Linked DNA regions of Homo sapiens: regions 1, 2, 3, 5, 6 and 7 are each linked to region 4. Evidence: promoter capture Hi-C in 16 types of primary human blood cells and fetal thymus (Javierre and others, 2016). All regions are on one chromosome and are shown on one strand. The core of a region is centred on a gene start or on the middle of the fragment in contact, and the rest is flanking DNA. Distances in the headings are between cores, read along the strand shown. Region 1 has its middle 20 kb from the start of SNORA63E. Region 2 overlaps EEF1AKMT4-ECE2 (EEF1AKMT4-ECE2 readthrough). Region 3 holds the start of VWA5B2 (von Willebrand factor A domain containing 5B2). Region 4 holds the start of PARL (presenilin associated rhomboid like). Region 5 holds the start of KLHL6-AS1 (KLHL6 antisense RNA 1). Region 6 holds the start of EIF4G1 (eukaryotic translation initiation factor 4 gamma 1). Region 7 overlaps SNHG33 (small nucleolar RNA host gene 33).

Region 1 (2,894 bases), core at 236-2,735, 410 kb after region 4:
CAGGGAGGCTTTATATAAAGAGTCTCTTTCATTTTGTTTAAAAGCTGTCATTTTGTTGCATAGATATTTTGTAGGTAAGAGCTCTGATAGAAGAATTTCAAAGTGTCTAAGTTGGCCAAGTGAAGATTCTGGCCAAGAGACTGAGTCTAGGGAAGCTAGTCCCAGCAAGAGACCTCTTTTGGGTGCCAGAGTTTCCATCTCTGGTAGTGAGAGCTAATGTGACCATCATATACTTCTTATGCAAGGAAGCAGGAAACATCTGGGTGAATGAATCAACACGGAGCATGGTCCAGAAAGGAAAAGCAGGAGCTGGGGGAACCCATGATGAAAATAGCCAGAGGTAGAAGGGTTTGTCTTCTCCTTTCCAGCCTGAGCAGGTTGCCATATAACTCAGCACCAGGGCCCATTTTTTCATCTACTGGGCACCAGGCATGATGCTTGGTGCCTTACCTATCACTTAATCCTCATTTACTTACTGTCCCTTGATGTGGGTACCTTGAAGATGGTAAGATGCACAAGGCAATTGCATTGAGCCACTAGGATTATTTAGTCAGCCTTATCTCTGTAGCCAACATTCTGCCAAGGGAAGGGGGCACTAACACAGAAATATAAGCCATAGTCCTAGCCTATATAGGACTTGCTATAATACTTCCATTGCTGAATTATTTTTTATTTTATTTATTTATTCTTTTGAGACTGACTTTTGCTCTTGTCACCCAGGCTGGAGTGCAATGGCATGATCTCTGCTCACTGCAACCTCCACATCCCGGGTTCAAGCGATTCTCCAGCCTCAGCCTCCCAAGTAGCTGGGATTACAGGTGCCTGCCACTATGCCCGGCTAATTTTTGTATTTTTAGTAGAGAAGGGGTTTCACCATGTTGGCCAGGCTGGTCTTGAACTCCTGACCTCAGGTGATCCACCTGCCTTGGGCTCCCGAAGTGCTGAGATTACAGGGGTCAGCCACCGCACCCAGCTCCATTGCTGAATTATACAAACTGGTTTCAAAAAGAAAAATAATTTGTCCAGCACGAATATCCAAACTTTGGAGCTTGTTTCTGGCCAATAAGGATCTAAATGGAATCCAAATGTCTTTTTATCATGCATCGGATTCAATAGAGAAAAGTCTTTGGACACACGGAGGGAAAAAACTTTACTCTGGTTGAAAGTATTCCGCTTTGATTTAGTTATATCCTGTGATTTAGCTAAGCCATGAACTAATTGAGCACACACAACTGGGAGAATAATTAAGTATTAGGAGAGAATTTCCCCTTGGTGTTTTATTTGTGAATTCATACACTCAATTCCAACTACTTCCTCTTCCAAAACCAGGTTAAAGTTGGACCTCATGATCCTTTAAAAACATAAATCAGATCACAGCATTTCTCTGCTCAAAACCCTCTAATCACAACCATTTCACTTAAAGCAAAGGTTCTCAAAAGGTCTACAGAGTTGTACATGGCCTAGTTTTTCATGATTTATTTCCCTAAGTTTGTCTGGTTTCTTCTGTCTTTTTTTCTTTTTCATTTCATTCTTCCTTTCTTTTTTAACACATCATTTCTACAAATAAGAAAAGATTGCCCTCTGCAGCACTCTCAATCGTCCTTCCCTCTTTCTATTTGCTACTTCAGGGGTCAGAAAATACAGCCTGTGGACCAAATGTCTGTTTTGTGTGGTCCACAGCTAAGAATGGTATTTACTGGTTTTTTGTTTGTTTGTTTGTTTGTTTGAGACGGAGTCTCACTCTGTTACCCAGGCTGGAGTGCAGTGGAGTAATCTCGGCTCACTGCAACCTCCACCTCCTAGGTTAAAGCGATTCTCCTGCCTCAGCCTCCCTAGTAGCTGGGATTACAGGTGCCCGACACCAAGCCCGGCAAATTTTTGTATTTTTAGTAGAAATGGGATTTCGCCATGTTGGCCAGTCTGGACTCAAACTCCTGACCTCAGGGTTCTGCCTGCCTCAGCCTCCTAAAGTGCTGGGGTTACAGGTGTGAGCTACCACGCCCTGCCTACATTTTTAAATGGTTGAAAAAATCAGAAGACAAATACTTTTTCATTGATGCATGAAATTATATAAAATTGAAATCTCAGTGTCTATAAATTGTATTGGAACACACCCACGCCCATTTGTTTTCTTACTGTCTATGACTGCTTTTGTGCTACAAGAGCAGAATTGAAGGCTGGGCATGGTGGCTCACGCCTGTAATCCCAGGCGTTGGATTTGGGAGGCCGAGGCGGGTGGATCACCTGAAGTCAGGAGTTCAAGACCAGCCTGGCCAACATGGTGAAACCCCTTCTCTACTAAAAATACAAAAATTAGCCAGGCATGATGGTGGTGCCTGTAATCCAAGCTACTTGGGAGGCTGAGGCAGGAGAATTGCTTGAACCCAGGGGGTGAAAGTTGCAGTCAGCCGAGATCGCGCCACTGCACTCCAGCCTGGGCAACAAGAGCGAAACTCCATTAAAAAAAAATGAGAACAAGGGCTAGCAAAACGCAGGAGGTAGCAAAACACAAATGATTCCAAACCTCAGACAGTGAAGCAAATGCTCTTCTTTCTTGGATTGCTTCTCTTGACCCCACCCACCTGTTCCCCTGCCCTTTCCTTCTGATGGGAACTTGGGATGATCCGTGCTGCATGGGGGAGGAAGGGCAGGTGAGGAGGGACGGGACCTGGGCTGACCAGCTAGCTGTTCTGAGCTGCCATGGGGTCTGTCTGGAATTTATAGACATTAGGTGTTAACCTGGTATCTCTGTGCCTCAGTTTCTTCTTCTGCAAAATGGGGAGCTCATCACCCCCTCATAGGTTGTGAGGCTTAAAGAGCTACTATATATGTTAAGCATTCATAACAGTGCCTGTTGTATAATAAACACACATGTGTGAGGCTGTTCTTGAATT
Region 2 (2,777 bases), core at 206-2,705, 380 kb before region 4:
AGTGGCTCATGCCTGTAATCCTAGCATTTTGGGAGGCCAAGACTGGAGGTTTGCTTGAGCCCAGGAGTTTAGGACCAGCCTCGGCAACATGGTGAAACCCCGTCTCTACTAAAAATACACAAAGATTAGCCAGATGTGGTAGAGGATCACCTAAGCCATGGAAGTTGAGGCTGTGGTGAACCAAGATCATGCTACTGCACTCCAACTTGGGTGATGGAACTGAGACGTTGTCTCAAAAATAATAATAATAATAAAGAAAATTAAATAATAAAATGTAAAATATATTTAAACGTTTTTATTGCAAATGTAATATACTCCAGAATTATATTGAATAAAAGATGAAATTCATTCTGTTGGGATCCTGGTACCATCCTCAGAGATAACTATCATTTGCGTTTTGGTATGTATCTTTCCAAATCTTTCTTTCTTTCTTTCTTTCTTTTTTTTTTTGAGACATGTTCTCACTCTGTCACCCAGGCTAGAGTGCAGTGGCACAATCTCAGCTCACTGCAACGTCTACCTCCTGGGCTTAAGCAATCCTCCTGCCTCCTGAGCATCTGAAAATATATGTGCTCACCACCATGCTTGGCTAATTTTTGTATTTTTAATAAAGATGGGGTTTTGCCATGTTGCCCAGGCTGGTCTCAAACTCCTGAGCCCAAGCAATCTACCTGCCTCAGCCTCCCAAAGTGCTGGGATTAAAGGTGTGAGCTACTGAGCCTGCCCAGATCTTTCTTTTATGTGCATTTATGTTCCTACATATACTGTATGTATATATGTGAATGTAAGTGTGTATACATATGTGTGTATGTGTACTTTTCCCACATATGTAAAATTCTACTCTAAACTTGTTATTTGATGACATTTTGGCAGGTCTTGAGGATTTTACCATGTCTGTTCACATAGATCTTTCTCATTCTTTTTTTTGTAATTGATATAGTTTGGCTGTGTCCCCACCCAAATCTCATCTTGACTTCCCATGTGTTGTGGGAGGGACCTGGTGGGAGGTGATTGAATCATGGGGGCAGGTCTTTCCTGTGCTGTTCTTGTGATAGTGGGTGGGTCTCATGAGATCTGATGGTTCTATAAGAGAAAATTTCCCTGCACAAGCTCTCTCACTTTGCCTGCTGCCATCCGTGTAAGACATGACTTGCTCCTCCTTGCCCTCTGCCATGATTGTGAGGCCTCCCCAGTCATGTGGAACTGTAAGTCCATTAAACTCTTTTTCCTGTATAGATTATCCAGTCTCAGGTATGTATTTATCAGCAGTGTGAAAACAGACTGATACAGTAATTTATCAGTTTCTTTTAAATAGAATGGGCCCTAGAAATACCCTCATGGTGTGGGCTTCCATCAGGTGGATAGGGTAGGATCAAAAGGCCCAGAGAAAGTCTAAGGAAGGAGAAACATGATCATGAGATATGATAGTAAAAATACTACCCCCCCAAAAAATATATACATATGTATTTTTTTTTTTTTTTTTGAGATGGAATCTCACTCTGTCACCCAGGCTGGAGTGCAGTGGCGCAATCTCAGCTCACTGCAAGCTCTGCCTCCCAAGTTCACACCATTCTCCTGCCTCAGCCTCCCAAGTAGCTGGGACTACAGGCGCCCGCCACCACGCCCGGCTAATTTTTTGTATTTTTAGTGGAGACGGGATTTCACCGTGTTAGCCAGGATGGTCTCAATCTCCTGACCTCATGATCCGCCCGCCTCGGCCTCCCAAAGTGCTGGGATTACAGGTGTAAGCCACCACACCCGGCCTATATTTTTTGAGATGGAGTCTTGTTTTGCCACCCAGGCTGGAGTGCAGTGGCCAATCTTGGCTCACTGCTACCTCTGCCTCCCGGGTTCAAGCAATCCTCCTGCCTCAGCCTCCCCAGTAGCTAGGATTACAGGCGCCCACCACCATGCCCAGCTAATTTTTGTACTTTTAGTAGAGATGGGGTTTTGCCATGTTGGCCAGGCTGGTCTTGAACTCCTGACCTCAGGTGATCCACCCGCCTCAGCCTCCCAGAGTGCTGGGATTACAAGTGTGAGCCACCACACCCAGCTTACCCCAAAATATTTCTAACAGCTTGTATTTGTTTCTTAGGGCCGCTGTAACAAGGTACCACAAACTGAGGGCTTAAAACAACAGAAACTTATTCTCTCACAGTTTTGGAGGCCAGAAGTCCAAAATCAAGGTGTTGGTAGGGTTAAGCTCCTTTGGAAGACTCTAGTAAAGAATTCTTCCTTGCCTCTTTCAGCTGCTGGTGGCTCCCAACAATTCTTGGTTTTCCTTACCTTGTAGTTCCCTCACTCCTATCTCTGCGTCTTTCATGTGGCCTTTTTCCCTGTGTGTCTGTTCTCTTCTTATAAACACATTGGTGATGGGATTTAGGGCCCACCATAATCCAGTATAACCCCATCTTAATTTATTTTTTATTTTTTTCTTTCTATATAAGACAGGGTCTCCCTATGTTGCCCAGGCTGGTCTTCAACTCCTGGGCTCATGGGATCTTCCTGCCTTGGCCTCCCAAAGTGCTAGGATTACAGGCATGAGCCACCACACCCGGCCTATATTTTTTTATTTTATTTTATTTTATTTTTTGAGACAGGATCTCACTCTGTCACAGAGGCTGGAGTGCAGTGGCACAATCTGGGCTATTTTTAGTAGAGATGGGGTTTCTCCATCTTGGCCAGGCTGGTCTTGAACTCCTGACCTCAGGTGATCCACCCGCCTGGGCCTCCCAAAGTGCTGGGATTACAGGCATTAGCCACCTAGCCTGACTGTA
Region 3 (2,700 bases), core at 199-2,698, 340 kb before region 4:
GAATGCACAAGGCAGTGCCCGGAGGAAGGCGGGGGACGGGCGGAGGCCGAGCGGATGCGGGAGCCTGAGCTGCGCCCGGCTTTCAGGAGCGCGGGTGCGGGCGCGCGGAACTCACCCTGCGCGCAGCGGCGGGGCGTCGGGGTCCCCAGCCCCGGGCCCAGAGCGCGGCAGCAGGCGGCCTGCGAGCGGCGCCGGCTCTGCAGCTGGAAGGAGACGCGCCGTCCGGCGGCCTCGGCCTCGAAGCCGGACACCACCTCGGCCTCGGCCAGCGGGTACACGAACACGCCTGGGGAGGGCGGCGGGAGGCGGCGTCGGACCCTGCCCGGCGCACCCCCCGCCGCGCCCGCGCCCCACCCGGGCCTCACCGTCCACCGGCTGCGGCTGCGGGTTGCGGTAGGTGAGCCGGGCCCGCACGCTGAGGCAGGGGCCGTTGGCGCAGGCCCGGACCCAGGAGTCCGTGAGCGGCAGCGGCGTCCAGCTGGAGGGGCAGTACAGGCCGGGCATGGCGCCGGGAGGCCGGCCCTGCGGGAACGGGCCGGGGAAGCTGGGCGCAGGGTGACGGGACGCCCACCCCGCGCTCCAGAGGCCAGCGCGAGAGTCTCACTCCAGCACCCGGACGGGGCCTGCCGGGGCGCGAGGCCGAGCGGGAGCTCCTGAGGGCGACAGGTGGCGGGGGAGATAAGGGGGCGGCAGGCGTGGTGGCGAGGAGGGCATCCTCACGCGTTACCTGGGCAGCCGGGCCGCGGAGGGTTAATGATTAACGCGCGCTTCGGCGCCCAGCAGTCCCGCCGCGGCTCCCCCGGGGGTGGGGGCGGTCACAGCTGTTCCACCGCCCACTCCCAACCTCGCAGCCACCCCCGTACCTGCCGGCCCCCCGGGGCCCCCCGCGGCCGCCAGCTGTCGGAAGCGGCGCGGGTGGAGATGGAAGATGCTCCGGGAAGGCGGAGGTTTAAAGGGCCCGAATCCCCCCGGAGGCCCCCGGCCCTGCGAGGGATCGCGGGGGCAGGGTGGATGGGGCGCCGAAAGGGCCTTGGTCTTTCTCTCCCTGGTGCCTCATCCGACGGGGGTGCTGGCCGGAGTGGAGGGGTTAAGGGTGGGAAGAACGAGCTGGGAAAGCGAAAAGAGGGGGTCTTTGGGAGGCAAGCCCGGGAGAGGTGTCGGGCCAGGGAGAGTCCGTGGGAGCCGCCAGGTTACCGCTCCCTACCCCGGCAGAGCTGATGTGGGAGGAGGGGGCACCTGCAGTGGCCGCGGCCCGCGCAGGGGATGCCGCGGGCTGGCTCTGGGGATCGCCCCGCTCCCTGTGGCAGTCTCAGCCTCACCGTCGCGCCCTCCGCGGAGTTCTAGGTGCCCACGGGATCCGTGTGGGTGGTGCCGCCTCTGCGCTCCGGGTGGCCCTCGGTCCCGGCACCTGCCGGCCGCCAGTTCGTGACTGTGGCTGCAGCGGCTCTGAGTCCCGGCAGGGGCGCGGGCCCTGCCGGCGGTGGTCCCGCCCCCGTTCCGAGAGGCCGCCCCTCCAGCCTGCCCTGGCCACGCCTGCTGCTGCTGCGGCGGGGCTGGCGCTCCCCCCTCCTTCGGGCGCGGTACCGCCTCCGCGCCAGCCGCGGCAGCCCGAGCCAGACTGGGCACCGCAGTGCAGGGACCGCGTCCCCGCCGCCGCACGGATCCCCGTCACTGCAGGACCGAGGCCTCAGAGACCCCACCCTTTCCATTCTTCAGGAATCAGGCGTCCTGCAAGTGCCACCGACACTGCCGCGACCCCAGCTATCCCATTACCACGACGGCATCCCATTCCCCAGCCCACCCCACCCCCTGCCCTGGGTTGCTTCCCATCGCTGCAGAGACCCTCCCTCCTGACTGCAGCGAACCCCCCAGCCCCCCATCACCGTCACCGCAGGACTCTTCCCCCAAGAAGCTGGCCCCTTTCCTTTGCAAAGTGCTCTTCATCACTGCAGAAAACCTCCCCCATCCCTGCAGGTACTTTTAGTTCATGCAGCCACTTCAGTGACCACTCACTCCAAGCAGGGATTCCTCATCACTGCAGCGACCTCCTCCCACCCCCAAGCAGCCGGCCTTGGCATCGCTGCAGTGCCAACCACTTCTGCTGGGGTGGGAGGGTGTGCACAATAGCGCCCTCAGCCTATAACCCCTTGGTCTCTTCAGCTGTGCGGGCCTTGGGAGTGAAGCCTTCTAGCCTGAAGAGCCTTCTTATGGCTGCAGACCGTCCCCTCATAGCAGTGACCCCCACCCATCACCGCAGCCCTGAAGAGAAAACATCTCTGCTTGTCAGGAGGGCCCCTTGTTATTGGCAGACTTTGCATGTGCTTGACAGTGTTATGCTGTCAAAAAGTAGGAAGGTCCGGAAAACCTCTCCCAGGTCCCCCAAGGAAGAGTCTGAGAGCCCTGGGGAAGTGAGAGGAGATGACCATGTTTGGGGATCATCCATGTAAGCTTTTTGGCAGATGCCATACTGAGATTCTGCAGAGAGAGCTTGAGGAGAGCTGGGGATGGAGGACAGCCAGTAGGAAGTGAGCTTTCGAGTCGGGCCCATGGTTCTCACTCCTCCGCATTAACTCTCTCCTTCTGATTTCAATCACTATCACCAGGGATCATCCCCCCGGGGGATCCCTGCCTCCTTGAGTATCTGAGCCCTCAACCCCAACCATCTCCTTTGCTCACCCTACTTAGCATGGTGGAGAGAGC
Region 4 (2,801 bases), core at 58-2,557:
TGAAGTGCTATTGCAGAGATAAGCATAAAGCGGTATGTGAGTACAAAGGAAGGGAATCTAAATTGGAGTGGAGGTCTGGGAAAGGCCTCCTGGAAGAGGTGACACTTGAGGCTGACCTGAAGGACAAGTCGGTTAGATGTTTCAAGTGGTGAGAACGGTAGCATGAATGCTCAGCAGTGGGAACGCGGATGGTGCCTTTGAGTAATGGCCAATGACTGTATGGCTGCAGCTAGGGTCGGGGGGAATGGAATGGCAGGGAATCAAGCTAACTGACAGGTAGTTGAGGGATGGATTATGAAAAAGTGAAAGCCCGCTTTTCATTTCAGGCTTGGATTTTGTGTTTATTTACTTATTTATTTATGAGAAAGGGTCTCACTCTGTTGCCCAGGCTGGCACGATATCGGCTCACTGCAACCTCCCGAGTTCAAGTGATTCTCCCACCTCAGCCTCTCGAGTAGCTGGGATTACAGGTTTGCGCCACCACGCCCAGCTAATTTTTGTATTTGTATTTGTAATTTTTTTGAGACGGATCTCGCTCTGTCACCTAGGCTGGAGTGCAGTGGTCCAATCTCGGCTCACTGCAACCTCCGCCTCCCAGGTTCAAGCAATACTCCTGCCTCAGCCAACTGAGTAGCTGGGATTACAGGCCCCTGCCACCATGCCCGGCTAATTTTTGTATTTTTAGTAGAGACGGGGTTTCACCATGTTGGCCGGGCTGGTATCGAACTCCTGACCTCAGGTGATCCGCCGGCCTCGGCCTCCCAAAGTGCTGGGATTAAAGGGGTGAGCCACCCCGCCCGATAGGCTTGGACTTTGTTAAAGGCATACAGAATAACACGAAGTGGTGAGATGCAGAAAAAAGTAGTAATTTAAGAAAACTTGGCTTGCCACGTTGGTTCCTCTAGGGACCAGCCCTGCAACTCCGGGCAAGTCCTATCCCCTCTGACCAGAGGCAAAGTGAAACAGTGATGACATCTACCTCTAGCAGTGCTGTGACGATTAAATGCGATCTTAGGCAAAGCGCCTGGTATGTGCCGTTACTCGAAAAAATGACAGTTGTCCCTCTTCGCTCTGGCCCCATCCTCCTCATCTGCAAATGCCGGGAGGCCGGGCCACTCTCGCAGGTCGCTCCCGGAGCCAGCTGAGCAGTGGGAGGGGAAGCGGTGGGACAGAAGGGCGCCAGCCAGTCGTCCGGGCACCGTGGCTGGTTCGGCTGCCGCTCAGCCGCGCGGGGGCGCTCTAGACTGCTCCTCGTGCTCTATGGTGTTGCCTTCGCCCCGGAAGTAGTTGCGCAGCTGGGGTTGGTAAGGTCGGGCCATGGTGGGGCAGAGGTTGGGAAGATGGCGTGGCGAGGCTGGGCGCAGAGAGGCTGGGGCTGCGGCCAGGCGTGGGGTGCGTCGGTGGGCGGCCGCAGCTGCGAGGAGCTCACTGCGGTCCTAACCCCGCCGCAGCTCCTCGGACGCAGGTAATAGCCGCCGCGCTCTGGTCTTCTCGCCTCTTGGTCCCTGAGCTCTGGCCGTGTATCCTCGGGGGCGGAGGCCGTCTGGGCCTCTTGTGCTGGCCCCAGCTCACCCCCTTCACCTTACCTGCCCCTTCTCTCTCCTCTCTCGCCTCCGTCCAGTCCTCGCTTCTCGCTCCCCTTGCCCAGCCCAGCCCCCCGCGAGCCTGCGCTTTCTCCTTTCCCATTGGGAAGGACGTGACTGGAAGGGGAACTAAGCTGAGGGTTCATTGCGTGCCACACTTCATAATCGCGAGTGGAAACTGTTGAGCCAGTTTCTGAAGTGAAGAAGTTAGTACAGCTGGCAGAATGGCGGTTTTTATTCTTTTTCCATCTAATTATAAAGGTTGTGTTCCATTACAACCAGTCGCCTTCTTTAGCTTGTGATCTAAGGGAGGACGAAGTCTGATGGAAGGTATCACTTTGTGTCTGGCAAAGTCGTAGGAGAGGCTTTATTGTTGAATTGAGACAGTGGAAGATTTCGTTTCCGGTTGATTTGGAAAGAAAACTGCCGAACCTTCCGAGTAGAAGTGTGAAGCGTATGGTTGATCAGTATTGCTGATTTTTGCATCACAGTAATTCATTTCTAATTTGAGAGAGAAGAGAGAAATTCCTCACCTGTTTAAGAATCTGATGTGCATTTGGCTTTGAAAATTTTCCTCCTCTTTTGTTCAAAACTTCATTCCTTCCAATTTCTGACTTGGTTAGATGGGTGCCTCGAATCCACCTGATTGCTGATAAGAAACATTGTTTATCAACACGTGGGATAGTCAGTGGTAAATAATCGAGGCTCTAATGTGGCGGAGCCATTGCCTAATCTCAAGGATCACCTGAAGAGTTTGTATGGATTTTATGTCCCAGGCCTCACCCCAGTCCTCCCAAATCACAATCAGGAGAGGGGTGGGTGGAGTGGAAGAACCTATATGTCCGACAAGCATTCCAGGTGAATTTTATCAGGGACTTGTGAAAACTTTACATACATTGTATCTTCATACACTAACATAGATCTGTCAGGCACTAATCTTAAACTCCTGGGGAGGTGGAAAATGAGGACAGATGGAGGTGGTAATCCCATTTGAGATTGCATGGTTTAAGGGGGAAAGAAAAGATTAATACTGGCCGGGCGTGGTGGCTCACACGCCTGTAATCCTAGCACTTTGGGAGGCTGAGGCAGGTGGATCACCTGAAGTTAGGAGTTCAAGACCAGCCTGGCCAACATTGCAAAACCCCGTCTCTACTAAAAATACAAGAAATTAGCGGGGCATGGTGGCGGGCGCCTGTAATCCCAGCTACTCGGGAGCCT
Region 5 (2,700 bases), core at 107-2,606, 340 kb after region 4:
TTTTATAACATCCTGTTCTTGTTTTGTATAGGTCATATTTTCACTTAATCTCTTTGAGGTTTATATTTTTTAAAAAACCACTCTTCTGTTTTTGTTTGTTTTTTACTGTTTGTTTTCACTGTATTTTTCTCTTTGTTTTTGTCTCTTTTATTCTATTTTATGTATGTATTTATTTATTTCCTAGAGACAAGGTCTCCCTATGTTGCCCAGATAGTTTCAAACTCCTGGGCTCAAGGGATCCTCCTGACCCGGCCTCCCAAAGTGCTAGGATTACAAGCATGAGCCACCACACCTGGCCTCTGTCTTTTATTTTAGAGGCTATACTTAAATATCTGGTAGTCTTTGGATATCTGTTCCTATTTAAGAGTCAAGCACTAACATGGTGAAACCCCATCTCTACTAAAAATACAAAAAATTAGCTGGGCGTGGTGGCACATGCCTGTAGTCCCAGCTACTCGGGAGGCTGAAGCAGGAGAATTGCTTGAATCTGGGAGGCGGAGGTTGCAGTGAGCCAAGATCATGCCACTGCACTCCAGCCGGGGCAACAGAGCAAGACTCAGGTGTCCCGACCTGACGAGTGCCATTCAAGTTGGATTTAGCCATGAAATAAGTTACAAAAAACTTTACATTTATCAGCACTTTGGGAATTTTGAAACTACAGATAAGGGATTATAGATATATAATGCTGAAATATTTACTATCATATTGGTTCTGATCCACAATATTGGAAAATATTAAAAGTGGAAAATATAGGGCCTGACCCTGGTGTTACAATCATTGGCTTCACTTGAGTTCTCAAGTGTACCCACTGTGGCAGCAGCAATCCTCAACACATTTGCTGTTAGCCAGATTTTTAATACAGACCTACATGGCCTTAACTCATTCTTGTTTTTCTTGGCACTTATTCTCTTTTTTAAAATTTGTTTAAATTTTACTTTAAGTTCTGGGATACATGTGCAGAATGCGCGGGTTTGTTACATAGGTATACACGTGCCATGGTGGTTTGCTGCACCTATCAACCCATCATCTAGGTTTTAGGCCCTGAATGCATTAAGTATTTTTCCTAATGCTCTCCCTCCCCTTGTCCCCCACCCGCCGACAGGCCACGGGTTGTGTTGTTCCCCTACCTGTGTCCATGTGTTCTCATTGTTCAACTCCCACTTATGAGTGAGAACATGCGGTGTTTGGTTTTCTGTTGCTGTGTTAGTTTGCTGAGAATGATGGTTTCCAGCTTCATCCATGTCCCTGCAAAGGACATGAACTCATTCCTTTTTATGGCTGCACAGTATTCCATGGTGTATATGTTCTTGGCACTTATTCTATCACCTGGGCTTTCTGACTCTTTTCTGACATCTTACCCCATTATGGAGACAAAGCTCAGGATTACAACATCTACATGTGGCTTAAGAGTAGTCTCTTGCCCCACTTTTCTGCCATGCAGTAATTGGTTAATATGTAATAATGATTAACAAGTGCATAGATTGTGCTCACAATAACCTTCCCATTCCTGGCCTTATGCCTGATTTTTGTAGCTGGCGGGTAAAGTCCTCTCAACATAGCCTCAAGGAACCAGACCTAGAGACTGCGGTACAAGACAGGAGTGAGACAGGAATCCAGACAAGGATTCCAGGCAGCAGCATCAACAAAGGAGATTGCTAATGACTCAGCCTCAGCCTGGAAGCTTTTCTATGCATGAAGGAAGGGCCAGTCATGAGACAGGGCAGAGAAAAGCCTGATAACCCCTCCCCTCATCACTAGGACTCCCCTCCCTCTGCCAACCCTGGGAATCACAGCAGGGCTGCCCTCACAGGTCACTGTCACTTACAGAGTGTGCCATATTTTGCAGTGAGCTGGGCTTCCCAAATGGTGAGAACCAGTTTCTGGTTCTAGCCACAGTGAGGTCCCATATATTTTCAGAGCGCACTGTCTTTTCACCTTGCACACCCTGACCCTGCTTCCTTGTCTCTTTTTTAACCCTTTGATCCAGACTGATGTCCTAAGGCATGCTGGGTCCTTGCTGCTATGGGGGTCTGTCAGCTCAGCCCCCAGACATAAACTGGAATGAATGTTCCAACAGTATCCTGCCTGTGCATGTGTGTATGAGCACAAGGAGGCTCTGATTTTTACATTTCCTCCTCATTTTCAGCTTATGTAGCCTACACTAGCAAAAGAGTCTTGGGGAGCTGAGGGGTCATAGGAAATGACCTGTTAGCCACATTTCTGTTCTCTGTGAAGAGGCCTGTTTTCAGTTTAGACATCATGGGGAAACCACTCTTCCCATCAAAGTGAGCTCCCCCAAGGATGAAATGGACACCATGCTATCTACTTGATATTATGAAGACTGAATGAAATAAAAAGAATCCAGCAAAGTGCCTGAAAAAATGTAGGCCGTCCATATTCCAAACTGGGAAAAAATGCTTAATGCAAAGATTACCACGTCACGTATAAAAACAAAATACTGGAAGCAACCTAAATGTCCACAGTGAGAGAATGATTTTCATATTATGCCTCTGTTGAAATTGGTAGCAATATAATAAATAGTCATTATGAAAAGCATGGAGCACCGTAGGAAAAATATTATAATGAAAACAGGGGGCAAAGCAAGATGCAAAATTGCATGTAAACTATGGAAAGATATGCATGTGAGAAAAGGTAGACAAATAACACCAAAATGAAAACTGTTAACATTATCAGAAAGCC
Region 6 (2,885 bases), core at 364-2,863, 430 kb before region 4:
CTGGCGGGGCTGAGAAGGCGTGTTCATTTGTGTCGCTTGTGGCGTACTGAACACCACCGGCGCTGTCTGCCCCGGGGGAAACGCTGGCTGAAGAGGGGAGACCAGAGTTCAGCAAGAGGGGAAGCCCAGGTGGGGCAGAAACCCAAGCTGGTGAAATAAGGGGAGCAGATCTGCGGCAAGAGCCTTAACAATCCACATACCCCCTCCCCGTGACAGCCCCCGGGGACAGCCCAGGGGCCCTGTCTCAATTTGGCAGCAGGCGGCTGCACTTTGCCCTGACACAGATGGGGGTAGGAAGATCCAGAGGCTGGAGACTGCCTGGTCTCCCCCACCCCCACCCCTGCTAATTCCTCCCTAATTACCTGTGGGAGTCCGGGGGATGGGGCGGGTGGGGGGCCTGTGGACTGTGGAGCTTTGTTCATTTCATTTGGTGCCACATCAGGGTCCCCCCAGCACCTGTTGGGAAAGAGTGGCGCTCAGGAAGAGGAAGGGACCCAAGCTTAAGGCAAATGGGGCGGTGAAAGGGTTGATGCAAGGGCTGGGTCCCATACGGAGTCCCAGAGATGCCAAGAGGGTGAAGCAGAAAAGATACAGCCTGTCCCCACCAACATGCTGTCAAACCCGCATCACTTCCAACCAACCCCTGACCTACTGAAACAGACCCCTCACTCACCCCCTCGATTAAGAACAAGTCCACGGTGCGGCCTACAGGTTCTGGGCATCCGAGGGCCTGGGGTTGGGAGGTGAGGGTATCAACCTGGCTCCGCGGGGCCCCAGACCAACCAGACCGGAAATTCCAGGTCTCGCTGGCACCAGGCTCCCGGATCACGAACGGAGCTAGCTGCTTCGGCCGTGGCGTCCCCACCCCCCACCCGGGGACACCGGGTTCGGGCCTGGCCCAGGGGCACACAGGATACGCCTGCCGCCGGGGAACCCGCACTGGGCCAGAAGCTAGGCCTGCCGCCGCCCAGGAGTGTAGGCCAGGAAGGGCGGGAGTCAGGCCCTAAAAGGCCAGGCGGGCGGCGGCCGTCGAGGAGCCGGTTTCAGGCAAGTGAGGGTCGGCCCGGAGGGCGGGCGGGGCCGGGGGCTCCTCCCTGCCCGCCGCCACCGCCTCCCTCCCCTGCGCCCTCCCTGCGCAGCGCGGGCCAGTGCCAAAGAACAACGTGTCACTTCCCGGCGGCCTGGCCGCGAAGGGGGGAGGGGGCGGCGGGCCGGGAGCCGTGGTGCCTGCGCCCGTGGGCTGCCGGGCCTCCTCGGGTCAGGCCGAGGTGGCATTTCGCGGCGACGAACCCGGCGCCCTACCAGCCCGCGGGGCCCGCATAGTCCGGCCCTGCGCTCCCCACCCCCACCCAGCAGCCAGGCCCGGCCGGGCCAGGCACACGTGGGCCGGGGATCGGGACCCTGGCGGGCCGGGGCCCTGGGTCGGGCCGCGGGGCCAGGGCGCCGGGGCGGCGGCGCAGGGTGGCCGGTCCCGGCCCGGATGGCGGCGGATGCGGGGGGAGGGGGTGGGGGGGCCGGGTCGGGCCCGGACATGGCGGCTTTACCTTCAGTCTCCTTCAGTCCGCGCGGCCGAGCCCCACGCAGCCGCACAGACGTAGTCCACAACCATTTCCGGCTCCCCGCACAGATCCCGCTCGGCGGCCACCGCTTCTCCGCAGGCGCAGCCGGCGCCCCCACGTGACCGGCGCAGGGGGCGGAGCCGCGCCGGGCGATCTGCGCCGCCGAGCACATGGGATTTGCCCCCGCCCCGTCACGTGACAGCCACAGCCCGCCCCCGTGTCCCCTCCCGAACTTTGAAACTCCCAGACCGATTCCCCTCTGTGTTTCTCTCTGTTCCGCGATTCTTTAGTTCATTCATATTTTAAGCAACCATTTATTGAGTGCATGCTAAGTACAAGGCGAAGTGCTGGTTGAGGGCTGAGAAACTGAAATCAAAGTCTCGGCAAAAAAAAAAAAAAAATAAGCGGGGCGCGGTGGCTCACACCTTAATCCCAGTACTTTGGGAGGCCGAGGTGGGCGGATCACGAGGTCAAGAGATCGAGACCATCCTGGCCAACATGGTGAAACCCCGTCTTTACTAAAAATACAAAAATTAGCCGGGCGTGGTGGCGCACCCGTAGTCCCAGCTACTTGGGAGGCTGAGGCAGGAGAATTGTTTGAGCCCGGGAGGCAGAGGTTGCAGTGAGCGGAGATTGTGCCACTGCACTCTAGCCTAGCCTGGCGACAGGGCGAGACTCCATCTCAAAAAAAAAAAAGAAAGAAATTAAAGACTCCGTCCTGCCTAAGTAAATCGTGATACAATACGAATTATGCAGGCTTTGAAAATAATTTAGATTAGGTCATTGAAAGGCCAATAACAAAGGAAATTAAAAGGATAGAAACATTCTAATTAGGCAAGTAGTATGAGATTTGTAGTTTAAAAAGATCATGGGCCGGGCGCAGTGGCTCACGCCTGTAATCCCAGCACTTTGGGAGGCCGAGGCGGGCGGATCACGGGGTCAGGAGATCTAGACCATCCTGGCCAACATGGTGAAACCCCGTCTCTACTAAAATACAAAAAATTAGCTGGGCCTGGTGGCGCACGCCTGTAGTCCTAGCTACTCGGTAGGCAGAGGCAGAGAATTGCTTGAACCCGGGAGGCGGAGGTTGCAGTGAGCCGAAATTACGCCACTGCACTCTAGCCTGGCGACAGGGTGAGACTCCATCTCAAAAAAAAAAAAAAAGAAAGAAAAAAAGAAATTAAAGACTCAGTCCTGCCTAAGTAAATCGTGATACAACACGAATTATGCAGGCTTTGAAAAGAATTTAGATTAGGTCCTTGAAAGGCCTATAACAAAGGAAATTAAAAGGATAGAAACATTCTAACTAGGCAAGTAGTATGAGAT
Region 7 (2,700 bases), core at 138-2,637, 430 kb after region 4:
TAATCCCAGCTACTCGGGAGGCTGAGGCAGGAGAATTGCTTGAACTCGCGAGGCAGAGGTTGCAATGAGCCAAGATTGCACCATTGCACTCCAGCCTAGGCAACAAGAGCAAAACTCTGTCGCAAAAAAAAAAAAAAAAAAAAAAAGAGAATCACACTTTATATCTGTGGTCTTCCTCCCCAAAGCCCCAAATTCAAGTCTAATCCAGAGGAAAACATCAGTCAATTCTAACAGAAAGATATCCTACAAAATACCTGAGTAATACTCCTCCAAACTGTCAAGGTCACCAAAAATACGAAAAATCTGAGAAACTGTCACAGCCTAGAGGGGTCTAAAGAAACATGACAGCAAAATGGAATGTGGTATCCTGGATAAGATTCTGGAACAGAAAAAGCACTTTACATAAAAACTAAGAAAACCTGAATAAATTGTGGACCTTAGTTCATAATAACACATCAATGTTGGTTCATTAATTGTATCACACTGGTCGGGCGAGGTGGCTTACACCTGTAATCCCAACACTTTGGGAGGCCAAGGCAGGTGGATCATGAGGTCAGGAGTTCGAGACCAGCCTGGCCAATATGGTGAAACACTGTCTACTAAAAATACAAAAATTAGCTGGGTGTGATGGTGTGCGCCTGTAGTCCCAGGTGCTCGGGAGGCTGAGGCAGGAGGATCACTTGAACCCGGGAGGTGGAGGTTGCAGTGAGCTGAGATCATGCCACTGCACTCCAGCCTGGGTGACAGAGTAAGACTCCGTCTCAAAAAAAAAAAGAAAAGAAAAAAGAAAAAGAAAAAAATGGTATCATAATAACCATAATATAATTACACCACAAATTTACCATACTAACATAAAATGTTAATAACAGGAATAATAGGGTGCAAGGTATATGGGAACTCTTTGTACTATCTTCTCTGTAAACCTGTAACTTTTTTCTGGAAACCTAAAACCATTTTAAAAATAAAATAAAGTCTATTTTTCGAAAGTCTTAGTATCACCTCTAGATATTCATGTGTAGCAACTTGCTTCATTAGGCTATTTTCCCTCCCATATCCTAAATATCACTGGCTAAAAAAAGGCCTAGGAAAAATCAAAATAGACATTTCCTACATTATTATTCTGTGTTTAAGATGTATAAACAGGGAATAAGCTCTGCATTGACATCTCCAGGGAAGTTGTTCCGATATGTATTCACTGGTTATCATTTACCTTAAAGATAATTATCTTTCCAGTAGGAAACCATGACTTATACACAGCCTTGATCTTAATGAAGCCTATTGCTTTGTTAAAACAAGCTTTACTTCATAGCTAATACAGCAGTGAGCTCTGAAAACAGATAGCATGCAGATATCCCAAATGACAAAGATTCCCAACTAATAACACATCACTGCGGTTTTCATGTTGCACACTGCATTTAAACTTGACAACAGTGAACAGAAAAGGCATGGATCCCAGTCTACCCAGAAAGAAAGCTTCAGTTTGTCAGTCTGTTGAGATACAGTCCTATAAACCATATCTGCAACCCTAGTTTTTGTTTAATTTGAAACAAAAACTCCCTGCATACAGGGACAATAGTTAAAAAGAAGGTTCTGAATGGACAACTTTATACTAAGTCTTAAGTATGATGTTTTATATTTTTATAAAACCCGAAGTATCTGGGAAGTTAGGTCTCCCTGAGGGCAGACCTTAACTAATGACTCGGTAGAGACATAAACACACCAGCCTGCTGGTTCTCTGGTAAGGACGACTCCAGGGATTGACCATGCACACTGACTTAGAGTTAAGCAGCACTGAGCCACCTCCAGGGGAACAGGCTTAGAGCAGCTTGCTCACTGGCCTTCCTTCCCTTTCTATTCTATTTCTCTATTACCCTGTGATTTTTTCCTGGAAACTTTCTAATTATTTGCACAGGAATTCCTGTGTTAGGGTTTCCTTTGGGGCCCTAAGACACATGATATAATAAGTATTTTTAAACGGATGACTCTTATCTTTAAAAGCAGTATAACTTGCTACTTTTTTGACATATTCTTATGTAAAAGATAAAGTCACTTTGCCACTGCTGAATGTAAACAGAGAAAATTGATTTGGAAAAGTTTTAAAATTCAAATTTAAATATGAAAGATCTTCATCCTTTACCCGTGATACGTGCTACAGATATTTTCTCCCAATCCAGTTTTTTTTTTCAGTTGTCTTTTGACTTTATGATGTATTTGCCATGCTATTTGTTTTATGTGGTCAAATTTATCAACTTTTTATTTTATTGCTTATGGTTTTTTGAGTCATAGTTAGAAAGCCTTTTTCTTTTTAGTACTTGTATTGTTTCATTTTTCACATTTAGATCCCTGATCCATTTAGACTTCATTTTTGTTACGCTATAAGGTGTAGATCTAATTTTATCTTTTTCCAAATGGCCAACCAGTTGGCCCAGCTCTGTGTATTACAAAGCCCAACTCTGCTCCAATGATATGTGATAGCACCTTTATCTTTAACTTTCTACCTGCACTTGGGGTTATTTCTGGATTTTCTATTCTATTCTACTTGTCTTTTTATATTATTCACACACTAGTTCCACATCTTAATTATAGAGACTTTGTAACCTCTATAGTCATAAAACCTCTATGACTGCCTTCATAACCTGTATAATACAGTTTTAATTACAGAAACTAAAGACAAACATAACTGTAAACCAATATTGAACT

The links. Contacts are between HindIII fragments. The CHiCAGO score rates a contact against its expected background, and 5 or more counts as called.
Region 1: a contact is called between a fragment that was not itself captured here and the fragment with the promoter of PARL in region 4, in 4 of 17 cell types (fetal thymus, erythroblasts, neutrophils and 1 more). The highest score is 7.7, in fetal thymus.
Region 2: a fragment that was not itself captured here is called in contact with the fragment with the promoter of PARL in region 4 in 4 of 17 cell types (endothelial precursors, M2 macrophages, M1 macrophages and 1 more); the score reaches 7.6 in endothelial precursors.
Region 3: the fragment with the promoter of VWA5B2 here is called in contact with the fragment with the promoter of PARL in region 4 in 7 of 17 cell types (M2 macrophages, megakaryocytes, erythroblasts and 4 more); the score reaches 10.2 in M2 macrophages.
Region 5: a contact is called between the fragment with the promoter of KLHL6-AS1 here and the fragment with the promoter of PARL in region 4, in 8 of 17 cell types (erythroblasts, M2 macrophages, M1 macrophages and 5 more). The highest score is 11.9, in erythroblasts.
Region 6: the fragment with the promoter of EIF4G1 here is called in contact with the fragment with the promoter of PARL in region 4 in 4 of 17 cell types (megakaryocytes, M1 macrophages, M0 macrophages and 1 more); the score reaches 6.7 in megakaryocytes.
Region 7: a fragment that was not itself captured here is called in contact with the fragment with the promoter of PARL in region 4 in 4 of 17 cell types (fetal thymus, megakaryocytes, total CD8 T cells and 1 more); the score reaches 11.8 in fetal thymus.

The regions. Positions count from the first base shown.
Region 1 is chr3:183,472,585-183,475,478 of GRCh38, reverse strand. No RefSeq gene overlaps it. Among named protein-coding and RNA genes, the nearest start is that of SNORA63E, 20 kb to the right of the region's middle. The HindIII fragment of the contact is 3,065 bases long and covers 1-2,894 here.
Region 2 is chr3:184,265,795-184,268,571 of GRCh38, reverse strand. All of the region lies in intron 2 of EEF1AKMT4-ECE2 (EEF1AKMT4-ECE2 readthrough), which reads right to left. Among named protein-coding and RNA genes, the nearest start is that of CAMK2N2, 5.6 kb to the right of the region's middle. The HindIII fragment of the contact is 3,781 bases long and covers 1-2,777 here.
Region 3 is chr3:184,228,333-184,231,032 of GRCh38, reverse strand. VWA5B2 (von Willebrand factor A domain containing 5B2) reads right to left here and starts at 1,448. Exons shown (of 20, transcript NM_001390846.1): 1 at 1,320-1,448; 2 at 366-653; 3 at 116-286. The coding sequence starts at 504. RefSeq lists a silencer at 1,341-1,680. The HindIII fragment of the contact is 8,832 bases long and covers 1-2,450 here.
Region 4 is chr3:183,883,386-183,886,186 of GRCh38, reverse strand. It overlaps PARL (presenilin associated rhomboid like), which reads left to right and starts at 1,307. Exons shown (of 10, transcript NM_018622.7): 1 at 1,307-1,465. The coding sequence starts at 1,341. RefSeq lists enhancers at 858-1,087, 1,128-1,177 and silencers at 1,127-1,277, 1,388-1,547. The HindIII fragment of the contact is 9,960 bases long and covers 1-2,801 here.
Region 5 is chr3:183,547,391-183,550,090 of GRCh38, reverse strand. It overlaps KLHL6-AS1 (KLHL6 antisense RNA 1), which reads right to left and starts at 1,356. Exons shown (of 2, transcript NR_046687.1): 1 at 1,128-1,356. All of the region lies in intron 1 of KLHL6 (kelch like family member 6), which reads left to right. The HindIII fragment of the contact is 1,687 bases long and covers 1-1,683 here.
Region 6 is chr3:184,313,334-184,316,218 of GRCh38, reverse strand. It overlaps EIF4G1 (eukaryotic translation initiation factor 4 gamma 1), which reads right to left and starts at 1,613. Exons shown (of 33, transcript NM_198241.3): 1 at 1,545-1,613; 2 at 674-730; 3 at 363-456; 4 at 1-87. The coding sequence starts at 422. RefSeq lists enhancers at 344-965, 1,690-2,190 and silencers at 803-1,512, 1,533-1,862. The HindIII fragment of the contact is 4,143 bases long and covers 502-2,885 here.
Region 7 is chr3:183,448,677-183,451,376 of GRCh38, reverse strand. All of the region lies in intron 1 of SNHG33 (small nucleolar RNA host gene 33), which reads right to left. Among named protein-coding and RNA genes, the nearest start is that of SNORA63D, 1.8 kb to the left of the region's middle. The HindIII fragment of the contact is 177 bases long and covers 1,299-1,475 here.